2 separate regions of the Homo sapiens genome follow, and region 1 is linked to region 2. Evidence: promoter capture Hi-C in human tissues and cell types (Jung and others, 2019). All regions are on one chromosome and are shown on one strand. Each heading gives the region's core, a stretch centred on a gene start or on the middle of the fragment in contact. The rest is flanking DNA. Distances are from core to core; before and after follow the strand shown.

Region 1 (3,151 bases), core at 593-3,092, 610 kb before region 2:
GTGCCTTTGAAAACAGAATTAAAAGTGACAGACACAGGGGAGGGTAAGGATATATCACAGAGTGAAGTATCATTGAACCATTCCTCTGTTGAATATTCAGGTTTTTTTAGCTTTTCATATTAACAATAATGCTGCAATGAACAAGCTTGCAAATATATATATATATATATATTTTTTTTTTTTTAGAGATAAGAGTCTTGCTCTGTCGCCTAGGCTGGAGTGCAGTGGCACAATCTCTGCTCACTGCAACCTCCGCCTCCAGGGTTCAAGTGATTCTGCTGCCTCAGCCTCCCAGGTGGGATTACAGGTGCCTGCCACCACGCCTGGCTAATTTTTTTGTCTTTTTAGTAAAGATGAGGTTTCACCATGTTGGGCAGGCTGGTTTCAATTGCTGACCTCAAGTGAGCCACCCCGCCTCAGCCTCCCAAAATGCTAGGATTACAGGCATGAGCCACCGCACCCAGCCAAGTTTGTACATATATTTTTGACTACACTTCTTAACTATTCTTAGGATAAATTACTAGAAGTGAAAATTCTTGGGTGAAGAGCTTGAGGCCTTTACACACACACACACACACACACACAAAAATAGGCTGGATGCAGTGGCTCACACCTGTAATCTCAGCAGTTTGGGAGGCTGAGGAAGGAGGATCACTTGAGTCCAGGAGGTTGAGAATAGCCTGAACAACATAGCAAGATCTTGTCTCTACAAAAAATTTAAAAAAAATTAGCTGGCCATGGCAGCATGTGCCTGTAGTACCAGCTACTCGGAAGGCTGAGGTAGGAGGATCGCTTGAGCCCAGGAGGTTGATTGAAGCTGCAGTGAGCTGTGATTACACCACTGCACTCCAGCCTGGGCAACAGAGCTAGACTCTGTCTCTAAAAAAAGCACAAAATAATATTTAAAAAGCACCAGGTATGCCTGTACTTGAGTTGTCTTTGTTGATGGCTACAAATGAGGACAGCTCTGGCTGAAGGGCGCTTCCATTTCCATGGGCTGAAGGAGGGACATTTTGCAAAGTGTGTTTTCAGGAAGACACAGAGTTTTACCTCCTACACTTGTTTGATCTGTATTAATGTTTGCTTATTTATTTATTTAATTTTTTTTTTGAGACAGAGTCTCACTCTGTCACCTGGGCTGGAGTGCAGTGGCATTATTGAGGCTCATTGCAGTCTCAGACTCCTGAGCTCAAACAATCCTCCTGCCTCAGCCTCTGGAGTAGCTAGGACTACAGGCATGTGCCACCATGCCTGGCTAATTTTTTAAATGTATTTTTTTGTAGAGTCGGGGTCTCCCTATGTTGCCCAGGCTGGAGTGCAGTGGTGTGATCCTAGCTCACTGCAGCCTGGACCTCGGGCTCAAGTAATTCTCACACCTCAGCCTGTCCAGTAGCAGGGGCTACAGGCGCGCACCACCATGCCCAGCTAATTAAAAATATTTTTTTGTAGAGACAGGGTCTCTCTATGTTGCCCAGGCTGGTTTCAAACTCCCAGGCTCAAGCAATCCTCCTGCCTTGGCCTCCCAAAGTGCTGGCATTACAGGCGTGAGCCACTGCGCCTGGCCCGTATTAATGTTTAGAACACGAATTCCAGGAGGCAGGCTAAGTCTGTTCAGCTTGTTCATATGCTTGGGCCAACCCAAGAAACAAGTGGGTGACAAATGGCACCTTTTGGATAGTGGTATTGACTTTGAAAGTTTGGGTCAGGAAGCTGGGGAGGAAGGGTGGGCAGGCTGTGGGCAGTCCTGGGCGGAAGACCAGGCAGGGCTATGTGCTCACTGAGCCTCCGCCCTCTTCCTTTGAATCTCTGATAGACTTCTGCCTCCTACTTCTCCTTTTCTGCCCTTCTTTGCTTTGGTGGCTTCCTTGTGGTTCCTCAGTGGTGCCTGCAACCCCTGGTTCACCTCCTTCCAGGTTCTGGCTCCTTCCAGCCATGGCTCTCAGAGTCCTTCTGTTAACAGGTGCATGGGGGTGGGGTGGGGGACTCTGGGTGGGGAGGAGGGTAACTTTTGGGTCTGTCATAAATAGAGGGCCCAGAATATGTAGGAGTCAGTCTGGGGAGAGGCAAAGGGGATTTGGGGAAGGAGAAAGGGTTCAAGAAGAAGCAGGGAGAACAGCTAGACCCAGACAGGCTGGCCAGGGAAGCCTGGATGAATGACCACATTCATGGACTGTGCAAGGCTGCTTGCCGGTCCCCTTGCTTCACACATGAGGAGACGGAGGCCCAGGGAGGAGAAGTGACATGGCTCAGGGTGCGCAGCAGGTGTGAGACCCCTTTCCTGAGTGCTTCCTCCTGGATCCCCTCTCACCATCTCCACTTTGCCTCCGGTTCTATTTTCCAAGGTCCCGGGTGCAAATGTTTGTTGAATGACTGATGAATGAAAATGATTTGAGTTTGTTACCTTTTATGCTTATATGTTGTGGAAAATGAAATTCTCCTCAAAAGGGAAGGAAATACTTGAGAGCTGCATAGGAAGGAAATTATCTAATTAAGAATGTATAGAAACTTCACTGTTGGGCAAATCATCGTTGTGACACCGGGGGAAGAAGCCATTTAGGTGCTCAGAAGGGAGGCTGGAATTCAGAGCAGGACTGGACGTGCCCCACGACGGTGGTTCTTAGGTCAGGAGTCAGCAAACAGTGGCCTGGGGGCCCGATATGGCCCACGACCTGTTTTTGCACAACCTGCCAGCTAGAGATTGAAGATGAACACTGATAATCGATTTGATGATAGGGAGCACCACCCCCAAAGAATTCTATTTGTCTCATTTGTAAACCCGTATTACAAACAAATTGTACTCAATCATTATGTTTGAAATTTCCCTAATGACAAATTTGTGGAAAAGTATTTTCTGTCTTGTTATATAAGTACTTGTACAACATATTCTATCAGCCTCTTGGTCTGCAAAACCTAAAATTTACTATCTGGCTGTTTACAGAATAAGTGTGCTAATCCCCGCCCCAGGCTAACAGAGCTGGACCTGGGAGGCAGACATCTGGATGCTGGGTTAGTTAGGGTGACCGAATGGATGGGAAAGGGAATGGAGCAGGAAGACATGCTGCTATCTTTTTTTTTTTTTTTTTTTTTTGATACAGGGTCTTTCTCTGTTGCCCAGGCTGTAGTGCAGTGGCATGATCATGGTTCACTGCAG
Region 2 (3,282 bases), core at 692-3,191:
ATAAGTGCTTTCAAATCTCTCCTATAAGAAATGAAAAATAGAATGTTAGGCCTTGATTTCTTAAACTCAGCCTTCAGCCATTTTCCCAAATTATTCTACATGTTTCCAAGACATTTCAGAAGCATTCTCTGGTGGGGATTATTTCCAATTGTGAAGAGTACTAGAAGGATGAGAATCAAAAGGAATCTTTCTTCTATCGCAAAAGAGTCAATCTCCAGGATTTCAAAGGCCTAGGGAAGCTGCTTGAGTTGTGAGGTCCATGGAGGTGCATGGGCTTTGGAGTCAGGCAGAGTTGATCCTGAGTTCCAGCCCAGCCCCTTAGTAGGCCCTAAGGACTCCCGTGGTGCTGTCACAAGCAGTGCTGCCTTTGGGAGCCCCTAACCTCCTGTCTTTTCTCCCTTCAGTGTGGGAAAGGGGTTTGGTCAGCCAGTGGTGTCAGCAGCCCTGTCCCACACCCGTTGTCTACACCTAATCTGGTGGCAGGGAGGCCACAGAGTGCAGCGACTAGAACTGGGTGAGAGGGTGAGAGGCAGCCATGCCCCAGGCCAAGACAAGTGCATGGAATCCTGACTGTCAGCAATCAGGGATGTTTCTGCTTTGGGGAGGGAAGCATTTGTTCCACACGTCTCACTGAATAAGGCACAGAGCCTGATCTGTCCCAAGTGGGAGTTTAACCAAGCTAGATGGCGGCCGAGGGCCCTGGCCCAGTTTGACACCCACCTCCTCTCCCACCTTCTACTCAGCCAGAAGACTAGGAGAATCTACTCAGCCGGAAGACTACGAGGTGCTGCAGCGCCACTAGCTCCAAGACTCCAGAAAAACAGGAATAGGGCATTCTGGCAGGTCAAAGCAGACAGAATACTTGAGCTCAGGAGTTGGCGAACTGACTATTAACCTGTAGCCCCAGTTACTTGGGAGGCTAAGGTGGGAGGATCGCTTGAGCTCAGGAGATGGAGACCAGCCTGGGCAACATGGTGAAACCTCATCTCTACAAAAAATACAAAAATCAGCCGGGCATGGTGGCATGTGCCTGTAGTCCCAGCTACTCAGGAGGCTGAGGTGGGAAGATTGCTTGAGCCCCGGAGGCTGCAGTGAGCCATGACTGCACCACTGCACCAGCCTGGGCAATAGAGTGAGACCCTGTCTCAAAACAAAAGCAAAAACCAGAGGTAGGGCTGAGGAGTCCGTGGCCACAGAGCCTGAGCCAGCACGGCCCAGAGGAACTGAGCTCCCAGCCCTGTCGCTGCCAAGGACCCTTCTTCCCTGAGCTTGAAGGGATTGAGAAGGAGAGACAGACGGACAGTCAGCGGCCCCGTTACCAGTGATGCAGACTCCAGGAGATGCGGGCAGAGTTGTAGATTAGAAGAATAGGCCAGCCCCTCTTCCACGTTCCACCACGGCCCGCAACATCCTCCTGGGACCCCAGCCTGCATGCCCCTATAAGATGCTTTTGCACTGGTTCAGTCTATGTATCATGCGAGGGCCTAATTGAAAACACGTGAATGAAGTGTACGGCCTTCTGTTCCCAGCTGAGGGGCCCCCTCCCACGGTGGCGTTAGCAGTGGGGTACAGTGCGGTAAGAGAGGTGCTAAGGGACGGGATGAGGGTCTTTCTTGCTTTAAAGGTGTCTAAATATACTTCTTCTTAAACTTAATTAGCTAATAAGATGTCTTATACAAGCAGAACCAGGTAAGGGAAAGAGCAAGTGTATTTCAAGTCGCAGCTCACCCCTTAATTAGCTGTAATACCCGCAGCAGGCGGCCCCACCTCAATGAGCCAGTCTCCCTTTCAAAAAAAAAAAAAAAAAAGGCACTAATAATGAGGGGGCGGGGCATGGAGCTTTATCCAATCAGGGGCGCTGGAGTGGAAACCGTCCAATCAGGAGTGAAGCCGGAGAGCAGGGGCGGCTTCCGGGATTTGGCGGGGGCCTTCGTCGGCTCCAGTTAGAGCTCGGGTCTCCTCGCCACAGCTCCGAGTCTTTCGTTCTGGGAGGCCCAGGCGGCTTCGCGTTCTGAGAATAAACAGAACCTCTGTTGCTCTGCGACTTGCAGGCACTGGGAGATTCGTAGCTAAGACGCCAGGGCATCCCGGAAGCTGGGAAATGGTGAGTGTGCGGGGTCGGGGGTCCCCAGAGGGAGGGAGGGCGGTGGTCGGAAGCGGCGGGAACCCGCTGTAGGGGCACCCGGGCCTCCCCGCAGTCAGCCTCGGGGTCTGGGCCCCGAGTCCCAACTGGTGCAGCTCGGCCCTCGGTCCCCTCCGCTGCAAGATGGCGGCCAGGCCGGCAGCCGGGACCCCGCGTGTCCTGTCCCATCCCGACCCCGCAGAGCGACCTCGTCCCTGGCCGGAGCCCTCTCTGGGCAGCTCCGCGTCGCAGCCCCGCGTCTCCCCCAGATTGTGCGGTGAGGACGGGAGCGTCTCAGGGGAGACCCAGGTTCGGTGTGTGGGAAGAAACCGTGCCCTGTGGGGTCCTCAGTCACTACTCCTCTTAAGAATTAAAGGGAGTCACTGTTAAAACGTTGAAGAATTTGAGCAAATAGCGATTTGTGACATGGGAAGCCTGCAGTCCTGGTTTGTGGTTCGGAGATCCCCAGAGGGGCTTGAAGGAAAGGTTTTTATAAGGTGCATGAGGAAGCAGACCAAATTAACCGATGGGTTACAGTTTGTAGTTGCCTTATTTAGACTATGCAGGTGGAGGTGAATTGGAGCTTTGTGGTTCGTTAAGTCTGAATTTTGTTTTCCCCTAAAGTTGTAATTTACAAGAAAAGCATTTGAGTTTGGTTTTGGTTTTTCTCCCTAGAAACCTGGGGCACTATAACCACTTCCGTATAATCGCCTGCTCATTAATCATCTTAACACTGCCCAGGGGAACTGGTTTTCCCCCTGCGCTTTCCTAACGTGTAGCACGCAGAGTCTCAAGTCCACCACTGTGTTCCCCCAGTCTAACTGGGCTTGCAATAAAATATTAAATTTCCAGTTCCTTCCCGACATTTCCAAAGGCCAACTTCCCCTCTCCAGTTCACATTCTTAACTATTGGTCATTTATTGTACATTTCAGACAGTATTTTACTCATTAATCATGATTTCACAGAGCAGTGGATGACACTTTTTTAAAGATTTGTGTTTTTTTGGCATACATTTCACGTGAGAGGAAAGCAGAGAATAAAAAATCCCTGACACTCCACTGCAAAAAAAACTGTGCCTCTTTTTCATTCATCTTCCCCAGGCACAGACACGTTATCGGAAAGAATGTCTTTTGACTTGAGGTTTTGCTTTGGAAACTTT

What was found. The method cuts DNA at HindIII sites, captures the fragments that hold promoters and counts their contacts. A contact is called where the count stands out against the background at its distance.
Region 1: a contact is called between the fragment with the promoter of ITGAM here and the fragment with the promoter of ZNF267 in region 2, in 1 of the 25 tissues and cell types used here (hippocampus).

Annotation. Positions count from the first base shown.
Region 1 is chr16:31,258,133-31,261,283 of GRCh38, forward strand. ITGAM (integrin subunit alpha M) reads left to right here and starts at 1,843. Exons shown (of 30, transcript NM_000632.4): 1 at 1,843-1,960. The coding sequence starts at 1,933. RefSeq lists an enhancer at 1,600-1,699. The HindIII fragment of the contact is 10,369 bases long and covers 1-3,151 here.
Region 2 is chr16:31,871,866-31,875,147 of GRCh38, forward strand. ZNF267 (zinc finger protein 267) reads left to right here and starts at 1,942. Exons shown (of 4, transcript NM_003414.6): 1 at 1,942-2,104. The coding sequence starts at 2,102. RefSeq lists an enhancer at 1,763-2,057 and silencers at 1,944-1,993, 2,144-2,223. The HindIII fragment of the contact is 15,903 bases long and covers 1-3,282 here.